Linked DNA regions of Homo sapiens: region 2 is linked to region 1. The links are contacts of gene promoters, found by promoter capture Hi-C in human tissues and cell types (Jung and others, 2019). All regions are on one chromosome and are shown on one strand. Each heading gives the region's core, a stretch centred on a gene start or on the middle of the fragment in contact. The rest is flanking DNA. Distances are from core to core; before and after follow the strand shown. Region 1 holds the start of PSMB2 (proteasome 20S subunit beta 2). Region 2 holds the start of AGO1 (argonaute RISC component 1).

Region 1 (6,976 bases), core at 2,137-4,636:
AACTTTAAAATTAGCTTAATACAAGGCCAAAAATGTTTTTTAAACACTGAATATGTCCAATGAGTAGCAGAGGGCAACATATTTAATAAAAACACAAGAGATAGATACTTAGAGACCCCTGAGTTGTACAGGAAACTGCCTGTGTAGCTCTGGGGAATTTCTGATTCTTGACGAGGAACTTACGAGATCCACATACATGAAACAAATGGCCAACAAAATGAACAACATTAGCATGTCATACTGTGGAAAACCAACTGAACTAGAATCCAAGAGACCTTGGTTATGATGTGGACTTGGCACTCTGAACTTCGGCAAATTACTTGTCCTCTCTAAGCCCCAGTTTCCAGATGTGTGAAATGTTATTTCCAAATGTGTGAAATGTTAATAATATGACTTACCCCTGTCTAACTCACAAGTGAGAAAAACTAATGAATTCTATACATGTCCAATATTATGATACTCAGTGTTAGATAATGTAGTTCGGATTATACATGCTATAGGAATTCAGAAAAGAGAGAATTCTGTGTGGGCTGGAGTACTCCGAGTAACTTAAAAGCAATTCTACATAGGCCAAGAGAAAAGAGACATGAAATGCGGCATATAAGCAAACCAAAAGTTATACCACTTAATAAGGTGGCAATCCTCAGCAAATGTCTACTCTATAGTATCAAAATGTTTTTACAAAGTGACATACTGGACAATTGATTGGAAGTTGTATTATCATTTTATACTTGGAGAAAGGAGTCCCAGAAGGTTACTATTTTTTCAGCATTCTTGCCTACTCTAAACAAGCTCCATCGTGAAATGAATGATTAGAAAAAAGTCATCAGACGGCTGGGCACGGTGGCTCACGCCTGTAATCCCAGCACTTTGGGAGGCGGAGGCAGGTGGATCACCTGAGGTCAGGAGTTTGAGACCAGCCTGGCCAAACTGGTGAAACCCCGTTTCTACTAAAAATACAAAAATTAGCTGGGCATGGTGACGGGCGCCTGTAATCCCAGCTACTTGGAAGGCCGAGGCAGGAGAATCGCTTGAACCCAGGAGGTGGAGGTTGCAGTGAGCCGAGATCGCGCCATTGCACTCCAGCCTGGGTGACAGAGCGAGACTCTGTCTCAAAAATAAATAAATAAAATAAATAAAAAAGTCATCATACAATACTAAAATTTCTATTATAATTTGTTTTATACCAGAAAAGACTATAGGGAAAATTGGAATGTGCAGAGTGCAACTATTTCCAATTATTTTTCAAGAACTAACTCAAATTCATCTTTCTCCCATACCATAGTTATCTTTCTTTTATTACTCTTAGGATTTGCTCTTGAACTCATTAATTTAAAAACCAACCTACTACTAACTAGTAATACTTCTTTTATTATATAAAATCATCTTGCAGCATTTATTTCCTTGTTTTCTTAATGTCTTGGACTCTTCTATGGGTTATAAGTAATATACTGCATCCCCTATAATGACTAAAAGTACTGTGTACATAAGTAGGCTTAAAGCACATTCTACTTTTCAATGTGATTTCACATACATTTGGGATGAAACAAAAGACCTGTAAAGATAATGATTATTGTTCTACCTAGACATGACTTAATGTTAAAATCACTTGCTTGTCAAAGACCTTAGTATTCAAAATAATGGACAAATTTACTCTCAAAACAAATTCACTCCTTTGGAAGGACTGGCTTACAAACAAAACTTCTACAAACTAATCATAGAATTTCATAAAGTATAAGGTGCTATGTTAAGTGATTTACATTAATTCATTAACCTTTTGAGATAGGTGCTATTACATTACCACCTTATAGATGTTAGCTCTAGGGCACGGAGTTAGAGAAATTTGCTTAAGGTCACAAGTGGCAGAACCTGGGTTCAACCTATGCAGTGAGTCCAGACATTTTGCCCCTAAGTACTATAATATACTATACTATACTATACTATACTATACTATACTATACTATCTATACTAAATTACTCAATACATAATTTTAAGAAGATTTTGGTTGTTTTTCTGCAGAATCTAAGTTTGTTTTCCTTAACTGATCAAAGACGTGCTACTGTTGAAAAAGTATTAAGCTTTGGTTCAGATGACTTAATGGTCATTTGACAAATATGTTTGGGCACCTACGTACACTTAGTATTATTAAGTACCTGCCTAGTGCTAAGGATTTGCACATAACTCATTTACTAAATCCTCCCGACAAGTTTGTGAGTTTGGTATTGCTAATCTTAAAGATGAGGAAATCTGGGCACTGCAAAATAACTTATACAAACTCATAAGGCAAATAAATGACAGGGCTCCAATCTCTTAACTCCATTAACTACTTAAATATAAGGAAAACCTGGCAGCCATTGCTCTGGAAAACTGGAAAAGAAGAATCGGGAGCCACGGGAAGAAGGAAAATGCCAAGCTTCTGGTCCCACAGTCTCACTCTCCCCAGGATCCCACCTTATGCCGCCAACAAACTAACCTCATTACTAGCGACACCAGGAAACTTATCAGAGATTCGGGGATCTAGAGAGCCAGTCCCACAGTCTCACTCTCCTCAGGATCCCACCTTATGCCGCCAACAAACTAACCTCATTACTAGCGACACCAGGAAACTTATCAGAGATTCGGGGATCTAGAGAGCCAGGCTCTGGGCAGGCGCTTAAACATTTATAAACTGATTCCCTTTAGGCAACTCTCACCAAGCAAGAAGCATTTAGCGAAGGCCAGAGCAGAGCACTGACCCAGGAGCCCTGGAGGAGCAAATGCCAAGGTCCCAGACCTGTCTGCCTGTTTCGCCTGTAATCCCAGCACTTTGGAAGGCCGAGACGGGCGGATCTCCTGAGGTCGGGAGTTCGAGACCAGCCTGACCAATATGGAGAAATCCACATCTCTACTAATAATACAAAAATTAGCCAGGCGTGGTGGCGCATATCTGTTCCCAGCTACTCGGGAGGCTGAGGCACGAGAATCGCTTGAACCCGGGAGACAAAGACTGTGCTAAGCCGAGATCGCGCCATTGCACTCCGGCCTGGACAACAAGAGCGAAACCCCTCTCGAAAAAATAAATAAATAAATAAAATAAGTACGGGCAGGGCAGGCCGGCTTCCATCTCTCAGATCCTCCCTGGTACTTATTCAACCCCCGACAAACTCCTTCTGGCCGCTCCTACACCCCAGGCCTGGCCGGGCCTCCCCTGCTTCCTCTCACCGTCCTTCATCTGGACAATATTGCTGGCGGCCACCCGGTCGGAGGCGACAAGAACATAGTCGGGGCCTTGGATACCGATGAGGTACTCCATGGTGGCGGAAGGCCAGGGGCTGCAGGTCCGACACAGCACGAGACTCGCCCGCTTCCAGGTCTCACCGGTGAGACAGCACCTCAGAGCGAAGATTGGCGCGACGCCTGCAGCACGACTTCCACGGCGCTCTCGGATGACGTACAACTGTCGCGAGAGGTTGCAAAGCGGGCGCGGCGCCGGGTGCCTTATGTTCAGTGCTTGTCTCTGGGATCGTACGGGTCTCCTCCGGAGCAGGCTGTGCAGGTCACTTGCCTTATGTGACGCCCAGTTTCTCTGTTTACACACTAAGATTTTAAAAGTGGCTTTAGGATAAAATCACGCAGTGTATGTAAGGTGCCGAGCACGTGTGGGTGTCAAAAAGGGGTAGGTAGCCAGGCAGCCGTTTCCCTACGTTGCTCGGTAAAATCTCCCCAGAAACCCCTTTCCTGCAAGCCAGATTGGAGAAAAATTAACTTGAGGGGAGCCTTACTTCCATCCTTCACAAAAATAGTATATGGTTGGATTAAAGATATAAGCATGGCCGGGCGCAGTGGCTCACGCCTGTAATCCCAGCACTTTGGGAGGCCAAGGCAGGCGGATCACCTGAGCTTGGGAGTTCGAGACCAGCCTGACCAATATGGAGAAACCCCGTCTCTACTAAAAATACAAAATTAGCTGGGCGTGGTGGCGCATGCCTGTAATCCCAGCTACTCTGGAGGCTGAGACAGAGAATCGCTTGATCCCTGGAGGCGGAGGTTGCGGTGAGCACTCCAGCCTGGGCAACAAAAGCGAAACTCCGTCTCAAAAAAAAAAAAAAAAAAAAAAAAAAAAAAAAAAAAAAAAAAAAGAGAGGGAGAGAGATACAAACATGGAAGAAAAAGTAGAAAAATATTTCTGTAATTTTTGGAAGAGATGTGTTTCTAAGCTTGACAGGGAACCCAGAAGCAATATGAGAAAAGACTTGACAGATTTGACTACCTAAAATTACACGTCTCTATGTGGTGAAAGTCATTATCATGCTCAACAGTAAATGTAAATTGGGAATGTTTCAATTGTAGAAATAGTTACTATTTTGGACCTTATAGACAGAAGAAAGGAAAAAGTTAATATCTATAACTTAAAAGATATTCCTACAAACCAATGGGAGGGGAGCCGGGTGAGACAATACCATTTTTAAAAGACCCGGCAGGGCACGGGGGCGGATCAAGAGGTCGGGAGTTCGAGAACAGCCTGGCCAATATGGTGAAACCCCGTCCCTACTAAAAATACAAAAAATTAGTTGGGCGTGGTGGCAGGCGCCTGTACTACTCCGGAGGCTGAAGCAGGAGAATTGCTTGAACCTAGGAGGCGGAGATTGCAGTGAGCCGAGATAGCGCCCCTCCACTCCAGCCTGTGCAACAGAGAGACTCCATCTCAAAAAAAAAAATAAAAAATAAAAAAAGACCAAAGACTAAGAAAAACAATTCACAAAAGAAGCAACACGAATGGCCAATAAACATGAAAAGATCCTCAACCTTGATGGTAATTAGGAAAATGGGAAATAAGAAACAATGAGAAAGTATAAATTGGGGGTAAGGTTCTAAGTTGTACAACCTTTTTATAGAGAACAATTTTAATATCTGTTAAATATGCATAACCTTTTGAATATGTCCAAAAGAAATGTTTGGACACACAGTCCAAATATTTGTGTACCGAGATACTCAGTGTTGCCAGGGGCAGTGGCTCACGCCAGTAATCCTAGCACTTTGGGAGGCCAAGACGAGCGGATCACGAGTTCAGGAGTTCGAGACCAGCCTGGCCAACATGATGAAACCCCGTCTCTACTAAAAATACCAAAATTAGCTGGGCGTGGTGGTGCGGCACCTGTAATCCCAGCTACTGGGGAGGCCAAGGCAAGAGAATCGCTTGAACCCGGGAGGCAGAGGTTGCAGTGAGCCAAGATCACACCATTACACTCCAGCCTGGGCAACAGAGCAAGACTCTCTCTCAAAAAAAAAAAAAAAAGAGAGAGAGATATTTAGTGTTGCAGCACTACAACACAAAAGAGGACCAACTTACGTGTCTAAAAGTGGAGACATTGTTGGGCCGGGTGTGGTGGCTCATGCCTGTAATCCCATCACTTTGGAAGGCCAAGGTAGGTGGATCACGTGAGGTGAGGAGTTCGAGACCAGCCTGACCAACATGGTGAAACCCGGTCTCTACTAAATACAAAAAATTAGCCGGGCGAGGTGGCAGGCGCCTGTAATCCCAGCCACTTCAAGAGGTTGAGGCAGGAGAATCGCTTGAACCTGGGAGACAGAGGTTACAGTGAGCTGAGATCGTGCCACTGCACTCCAGCCTGGGCAACAAGGGCAAAACTCTGTCTCAAAAAAAAAAAAAATGTAGTACAGTCATAGTGGAATATTGTGCACCCATAAAAAGAATGAGATGAATCTAAATATACCTATATATTCCATGGCCCAAGATACATTAAGTGAAAGTAAAAATGCTTTTTTATATGTAGCCTGATGCCATTTTGTTTAACTATGAATATTTGAATATGAATGGAATACCTGTAAATACCTGTTTACAGGTATTCTAGTGTCAAATTATTTGCATTTATTACCCTGGTGAGTGTAATTTGAAGGGAGAACTTTCACTTTTTATTTTATACACATGGGTATTGTTTGAATGTTTTACAGTGCTCATGTACTATTTGTATTTTTTCTAATAGAAAAAAAAACAGCCATCCCTTTATATCTTGAAGCAATTCTGAAAAAAAGGTGAAATATTTCTTGATTGGGTTTCTGACATCCACAACTGAGTCTTCATACTAGCTTATTGAGAAATGGGAAACGAGTTGCAGTTGTATCTCCAAACACAACTATGCAATTCGTTTGTCTCTGCAGAAATTGTAATACTTTATTCTGAATGTTTCTTCCAGCTCCCTGCACATAAAGGAACACAGAGCCTGAGGAGTTTGAGGCAGCCTATCAATCATGGGATGGATGCCAGGGGCAAGTGAGGTCATTAAGTCAACCATCCACTATGAACACAGCTGCATCCATCACTCTAGAAAGATTGTTTTCTTAAATACCACTTGGAGGGGGGAGGTCTCTCTCTCTCTCTCTCTCATCCTCATTGTGTGTGTTTGTGTGTTTTTTTAATTGCAAAAAGTACATAGTTATACTATATATACACACATACACAAACAATATAGAAGAAACAAAGAGTTAAATACCTTTCCTTCCGCCAAAGGTAACCACCCACTGAATGTCTGTATCCTTCCAGACTTTTCCTTTGTACATACCAATATTCATTCATTCACAAACGCTGCAGATTTCTGAATTGGAAGATCCACAGTATTTTTATTATTATTTTTAAGGACTATCTTTTAAGCTGATTCATCCTTCTTTCTTTCCAGGCTTTTTTATTTTTATTTTTATTTTTTTGAGACAAAATCCTGGGTTCAAGTGATCCTCCTGCCTCAGCCTCCCAAGTAGCTGCACTACAGTCACATGACACCACACCCAGCTCTCCCTAGGACTTTTTGAAATCTGCTTTAGCTAAGTAGCACTAGAGCTGCCCTCATTTCTTGTTAGTATAGAAGAAAGTAGGTTTTCAAGACCTAGCTTGTGCTGTGTCACTCTCCTCCAACTAAAGTCTTAGAATAACTGAGTCTTAGAATTAGAAGTCTGTGGAGGTTCACAGAAGTAGCATAATGT
Region 2 (6,976 bases), core at 2,804-5,303, 240 kb after region 1:
GTATGTAAAGCAGTAATTCTCATAGTCCCCAGATCGGCAGCATCATCAGCCTTATCTGGAAACTTGTTAGAAATGCACATTTTTGGGTCCCACCCAACACCTACTGAATCGAAAACTCTAGAGGCAGGGCTTACCAATCCAAGTTTTGTTTTTTGGTTTTTGTTTTTTTTTGAGACGGAGTTTCACTCTTGTTGCCCAGGCTGAAGTACAATGGCGTGATCTCAGCTCACTGCAACCTCCCCCTCCCCGGTTCAAGCTATTCTCCTGCCTTAGCCTCCTGAGTAGCTGGGATTACAGGTGTCTGCCACAACACCTGGCTAATTTTTTGTATTTTTAGTAGAGACGAGACTTCACTATGTTGGCTAGGCTGGTCTTGAACTCCTGACCTCAGGTGATCCACCCGCCTTGGCCTCCCAAAGTGCTGGGATTACAGGCGTGAGCCACTGCGCCCAGCCACCAATCCAAGTTTTAACAAGCTTTCCAGGTGATTCTGATGGTTGCTGTTTGAGAACCTCTAGAAGCAAGGCATGGTATAAGTGTCAGAAATTAATCTCCTCATGAGTAAGGACCGGTTATGGTCCATCCCTTAAGTTCCCAGCCTCTGCATGGCATCTAGTGTAAAGCAGGCATCAAAAATTTGTGAGTTTATGGGAAAGTGATGTTTGAGCTGGGTCTCTTACCCCGCCTATCACTGCACCAGACCGAATAGGAGGGAGAATGGGAGTTCCCAGAAACTTTGAGACTAGCAAGGAAGTGGTTGTGATACGTCTAGCAAGATATGATAAGGGTCTGCACCAGCATAAGAAACCATCAGAATGGCAGTGAATCATGTGAGAGCAGTTCAGAAGGTAAACATGTCAAGACGTGGTGAACAGCTGAATAGATGGAAAGAACAAGGGATAGAGGAACTGTCATTTCTGACATGAAGGTGCTGTTCGCTGAGATAGGAAGCACAGGGCAAGTATGTTTGTGAGTGAAAGATAAAGTGTTTGGTTTGGACTTCTTAAATTTGAAGTGCTGGTAGGATATCCAGGTGGAGCTGTCCAGCAAACACTTGGAAATGTGAGTATGAGACATGGTTGGAAACAGAGATTTGGAAGGATAGTTGGGCCGTAAGAGTGGATGAGACCTTTAAGGGGAGAGTGGAATGAGAAGAGAGCTGGGTTTGGAACCACAGTGAACAGTTAATGAGGCAAAAGCAAAAGGGGCCCTTTAGAAAGACTGAAAAGGACTTAGGCAATAGGAGACTGCAGAAGATGCCGCAGCCAAGTAGAAGGCTCAGAAGGGAAGTAGAGGCACAGTGACAGATGCTGCAGAGAAATAATTGAAAAGTATCCTTTGGATGTCAACCCCAAAAGTCATTTAAGTGACGTGATGAGGGCAGAAGCTGATTGACAGTTCAGGCATGAACTGTAGATGAGAAAGTGGAGGCAGGTGCTTCCCAGGTCCGGCGGATAGAGCTCTGTAGCTGCACTTAAGTTCAAACTGTGACATCTTCCAGGGTAGGCCGCGTCTCTACTTATCTGTGGTCTCAGCGTCCAGCACATGGCGTGGAAGAGGGGGTGGCGTCAGTGAGTTCAGTGACTAGGGACGGAGAAAGACTTCGTGGAGGCAGTCGCTTTGCAGCCAAGGCTTGAAGGATGAGGGTGATTGGGAGGAGAGGTGGGAGGCAGGGCCCCTGGGCGCTGGAGTGCCAGGGGGTCTGGGAATGAAGTGGGGTTCCCATAATGTGTGCGCGCAGCTCGGTGCGACAGGCGGGGGCTGTGTGTAGGTTTGGAGGGACCTATTTGGGGAAAAGACACAGGGCTGAAGGCTGCTGTGGCGGGATGTCCCTTCGCCCTGCCCCACTTATACCACTGCGCGGTTCCAAGGCACCTCTACTGGCGCCCTCCCGCCGGGCTGCATGGCGACGGGTGACCGCCAGGGGCCGCTGCCTTGGGTCCCCGGTGCCCCCGCCCCTCTCCATTGGCCTTTGTTGCCGTCGGAGCGCCCCGCTTGACTCGTTCCGGTCCGCCCCCTGGGCCCGGCGGTCGCGCCTGCGCACTGGCAGCTGGCCGGGCGCTCGCAGTGGGAGCTGCTGCAGGCTCCGCGGCGGCGGCAACGGAGGCTGCGGGGGCGGCGGCGCGAGCGGCCGGGCTTGGTAGGGGAGCCGAGCCCGGCCCGGGATCCCGAGCAGCGAGAGTGTGGGGTACCTAGGCCCCTCACGCTGGACTTCACAGTCTCCGGGCCGCCTGACCTCCGCACGGGTATATGGGATGGAAGCGGGACCCTCGGGAGCAGGTAAGGGTCCCCAGGAGGGGGAACGGTGCATGCTCCAAGGACTGGGGGATCCCGCATGAAAAGCGTGGTTTCCAAGTGATGGAAGCGCTCCTGAGTGAGGAGAAGGGCTCTCCCACGATGGGGGCCCAGTTTGAAGGAGGCTGTGTGCAGTTCCGGGGGAGAACCATGTGAAGAGAGCCCTGAGATGGGGGCTGTTTGTCCAAGGAGGCTGTATACAGTCCTGCGGGTTGGAAGTAATCTGGGAGAAGGGCCTGCACGCACGGAAGGACTCCCAGACATCCGTGGAGGCCTACGGAGAGGCCCGGCAGGTGGCAGGGGACGGGCTCCAGGTGTCCAGGAGAGGAGGGGGCGACACAGATGGGCCTGGAGCTACCGCATGCCGGGGGCGGGGGCTCCGCTGGGCTGGAATAGGCTAATGTCTCTTGGGAGAAGGCGCCAGAGCTGGACTGTGAGCTCCGCCCCACTGGGCCTGACGCGAGGGCGAGGGTCAGGGGGCGGTGGGTGGGGACCCAGTCCCGGGATTACCCCCCGTGGGTCTGGGGAGTCGGAGCGGAGGCTCCAGAGCATGCGCGGAGGTGGCAGCTGGAAGGGGCTGCCCGACGTGGTGGGGGCGTGGCTGTCCGAATACCCCCACCTCTCCACACCCCCCCGCCCCGCCCCGTTTGGCTTGGAAAAAGGAGCGCGCTGATGGGGTGCATTCTCTCTTAGGTTATGCTGGCAGTGTGCAAATGGTTATGGTCCCCTCCCCCATTTTAGGGGCTCTTACACTTGGCCCTCAGTCACAGTTTGCTAAGAATGGGTTGAGGGAAGCTGCCAAAGTGCATTTTTCTGCCACAGGAAAGACTGGGACCGAAGCGATGGGTTCTGGGGGTGGGTCCTCCTGAAGATAGGCCTTAGGAAAGGTATTGGTTACGGAGGAATCAAGGACAGGGCAGGGGCTACCTGGAAGGAGTTGTCTGCTTGGTTTGCAAGTTTCTGCTCCAATACTGAGTAGTGATGGGGGCTTTTAATCCAAAGATTTTCCATTGAATTGTCTGTTAAGGTTACACTCTACATTTATAACATTTATTCTAATATTTCTTAATATTTTCATGGCTCCTATCTTCCACTGGATATCTTTCCGTTTTCCTCTCCCCACTCCCCAGAAACTGTCAGGGCTGTCTTTAGAGCCAAGATCTAAACCCTACAAACACGTTGGAGGATGGGGGAGTTTATAGCCTTCATCCTGGTGAGGCCTAGGTGATAGCCTTAACTTCTTATTTGCAGGCAATGAGGAGGAAAAGACATAGGAACAGAGGATAAACTGAGGCAGGATTGCCTCAAGAAAACTGGAGTCCTTAGGATGGGCTGTGGGGTGGTGATACCTCTTGTGTCTTAAGTGTCTTACCCTGTGATGGGACGAGGAGCCTGGACCTGGGAATCCTTCAGGTCATCTCTCACCACTTCCTTACATTTGGTCTGGGGATGGGAATCAAATTTCCATTTAGGCCATGAACTTCATTACTTTCCTAGTGGAATTATTTTGTTTTTTTTGTAGCAGACCTAACTCCCTCCCACCCTCCCAAGGAAATAGCTCCTACGACCTCACTCAAGTTATCCATTTAGTGATCTCTAAGTACTTAGTGACTGTTTTCCCTCTTAACAACCAGCCTTGTATAGACTGTGTAGTCGTAAGGATAAGCACAGGGAGCAACTGACTTGAGTACTTCCTCTCTGTCAGGACCCTCTCTCCATCCCAGGAACTTCTGTTTTTCAAGGCTGGGGACTATTTCCAACAACCCATGAACTAGAGTAGTGGGGTAGGTCATTGAGGTCCACATGGATTGCTGGTTGCTGGTACCCATTCTAGACTAATGATTTTTATCCTGATGAATTCCTAATAGGCTCTGGAGTGATGAAAAATTGACTTTTTAAAAATTTGTTACAAAAAATAAGCTTATAGGAAAGGAGCTAGAACCTGCTGTTTGGAGTCAGCCAAAGCCTTGGGAAAAGCCGAATAGGACAGGCTTTGCCTCAGTAAAGGGTATAATTGAGATTCAGTCTGGAAGCTGCAAATTGAGGGACCCCATAACTGCCTCCTTCCTAGGCCCGGACTGTTCTCTTATAAGAAGTTAGAGTGGTGTCCCAAGGTGGCCTGAGGACATAATACACAAAACTAAAGCGTTGTGTAAAAAACAACAACAAAAAACCCCCCAAAAACTAAAGCATTGTTGCTAGCCTCACTGGGCTTATGCCCAGGTCTGCCTTCTGTGCTCAGGTGTGTTCCAAGCACATACAGTGGACTGGGTGCTCCCTGAGGGTAGAAGCAGTGTCTGGTTTATTTGTAGAACTAGCAAGTGCCTAGTGTATAGGCCCTGGCACAGAATACATGTTTATTAATTAAATCAAATCACATTCAAGTGTGAACATAAATGGTTAAGCACGTATGTGGATATTTAATAAAGTGTATACTCACATGGAACAGATCCTTTTTGGAGAGATTGGCTTGTTAGTCTTTGCTTGCCCACCAGCTAACCTAACCTAACCTAACCTTGAATTTGTGTCTTTTGAATAGGCAGTCTGGCTCCTTGGGAGGTGTGTGGGCCTCAGAACTGCAAGAAAGGAATCCTGAGCCAGGGTTTTCAGCTCTGTTACTTTTCCTTCTCTGGGCTCCTTGGGGATGGGGGAGGGGGAGTGTCCTTTTCAGGGCCCCTCCCTCCTTGCTTTTGTCTGAAGAGAAGGGTCCCGCCCCTTTCCCCCTAGGCCCAAGCTTTGTCCTCTGTGCTGGGGCCCTCATCTGCATCACAAAGTGGCCGTCTGTCCCTGTCTGGGTCTGTAGGGAAGTGTCTCCCTTTCTCAGACTAAAAGCTGGGGTAAGGGGGGCGGGGAGGAGACAGTGCTGTTGTTAGGCTTTCAGGGGGATGTAATGGGAGAGAGGTTCCTGCTTCCTGCTGTCTTTCCTAGTTTGGAGATGAAGTGGGGGTGTGGGCTCCCCTGTTTTCCCAAAGCCTCTTTGGAGAGGAAGGTGCTCTAAGGCTATGTGTGGTATGTAGTCGGGTTTCTGGGGAAGAGAAGGCTTTGAGGCTAGAGTGTCTGTCCCATCCCCCATCATTTCTAACTAGCCCCCCAGCTCTAGGAGTTATCTTTCTCCGAAGGCCCCAAATGATTATTCAGTCTGGGAGGGGAAGAAGGTGAATGAAATATAAGAACTTGGGGAGGGAAAGGATGTCTCTTACTGGCTACACCCACAAACGTGCATATTTGTCTTGTGTAGTGTTTATAATTGTTTCTGGGCAATTGCAGGTGTTCGTGTGTCTGTGTGCTGTGTGTGCTTGTGTGTTTTTGTGGTGTGTCTATGGATATGTTTGTTCATTCATTTCATATCAGTATGTTGAATACTTCCTGTGTGTGTGTCAGACACTGGAAATTAAACAGTGACCAAGGCAGATATAGTCCCTGCCTTTGAAGAACTCAGTCTAGGGCAGTGAAGGATATGTGTGTAAGTGTAAATTGCCAAGGTCTAAGTGTGTGTTTGGATGTGTGTGATGGGGATGTGTGTCTGTCTGTCCGTGAGCTTGTGTGCAATTTCTGTCCAGCACTTTCTGAGGTAGGCAGCCAGGTGCTAGTAGATAGGTTTTCCCTTCCCCATGTAGCTGAGTTCTGAAGACCTTTTCCATCCAGGCTGGGCCTTCATTTCCCTGTCTGCAGAGTGGGACTGGGCTTGGACAGGTGGTTAGAGGGAAACAGAGCAGCTTAGCTCTGGGAAGCTGCCCCTCCCATGAATGGTTCTGACCTCTTCCTGACCCCCAGCTGAGGGTATGCCCCATCCCCCCAGCTTGTCTGACTGTGAAAGCAGAAGTCTGATAATGGGAGGTTCTGGGCTGGTTTATCCCTCTCTTCTCCCACCTGGGCTAGTTCTCTACTGCCAAGAACAATAGCAGCATATTATTCCCTTTTTTTCTCTCTTCCCCCCAAGCTAGAAAATAAGACTGGAGACAGCAGCCAGACTGGCAAAAGAGGGTAAAGTAGCTGGATCTGGCCTTACCCTATCCCTTTCCCAAGGGCCTCCTCTGTCTTGAAATTGATCTCTTCTGCTGCTGTCTGGACCTTCTGTGTGGAAGGATCTGTGGGGCATGGAGAGAATCTTGTGTTCTTCCCAGAGCCAGTGTCTCTTCTCCAGCATTCTAATTGCCACCTCTTCTTCCCAAACCCGTTAGTTCTTTCTTTATTCAAGCTTTTTTTTTTATCATTGTCTCCCCAGTTGCTGCTTTGTTTCTTCCTGCCTGAGCTTCCAACCCTAACCTCTTTTGCCCCACCCCTTGACTCCAGCCTTCTCTTTCTCCTGGCCTTTTTCTTTTGTGACCTCCAGCTCTGTCCTCTTCTCCAACCCCCTTTCTCTTTTCCTTAGTCTCCAAACTCTGTCCTTTGAGCCTTTTCTCCTTTTCCCTGTCTCCAACTCTCGCCATTCAGTTGCCTTAATTCTGCCTCAAACACTGACCCTGCCCTCTCCAGCCTGGCCTTGTCTGGATCTTATTCCTGCCCACCTATAAAGGAACATCAAGGTTATGCCATTTTGTATTCAGCATGGTGGCGAATGGAGTGAGCATCTGGCTGGCAGAGAATAGAAATTCTTGGTCTGCTAGATACCTGGTGGAGGCAAGTGTCTTACTCTACTAGAAGAAAGAAAGGGTTTTGTTACTAGGAGCCAGATTTAGTC

The links. Contacts are between HindIII fragments. The study calls those that stand out against the background at their distance.
Region 2: a contact is called between a fragment that was not itself captured here and the fragment with the promoter of PSMB2 in region 1, in 1 of the 25 tissues and cell types used here (hippocampus).

The regions. Positions count from the first base shown.
Region 1 is chr1:35,638,140-35,645,115 of GRCh38, forward strand. It overlaps PSMB2 (proteasome 20S subunit beta 2), which reads right to left and starts at 3,387. Exons shown (of 6, transcript NM_002794.5): 1 at 3,203-3,387. The coding sequence starts at 3,293. RefSeq lists enhancers at 2,362-3,327, 3,116-3,575, 3,328-4,292. The HindIII fragment of the contact is 3,605 bases long and covers 2,247-5,851 here.
Region 2 is chr1:35,881,167-35,888,142 of GRCh38, forward strand. It overlaps AGO1 (argonaute RISC component 1), which reads left to right and starts at 2,043. Exons shown (of 19, transcript NM_012199.5): 1 at 2,043-2,280. The coding sequence starts at 2,256. RefSeq lists a silencer at 1,806-2,265 and enhancers at 4,616-5,255, 5,893-5,952. The HindIII fragment of the contact is 3,416 bases long and covers 2,346-5,761 here.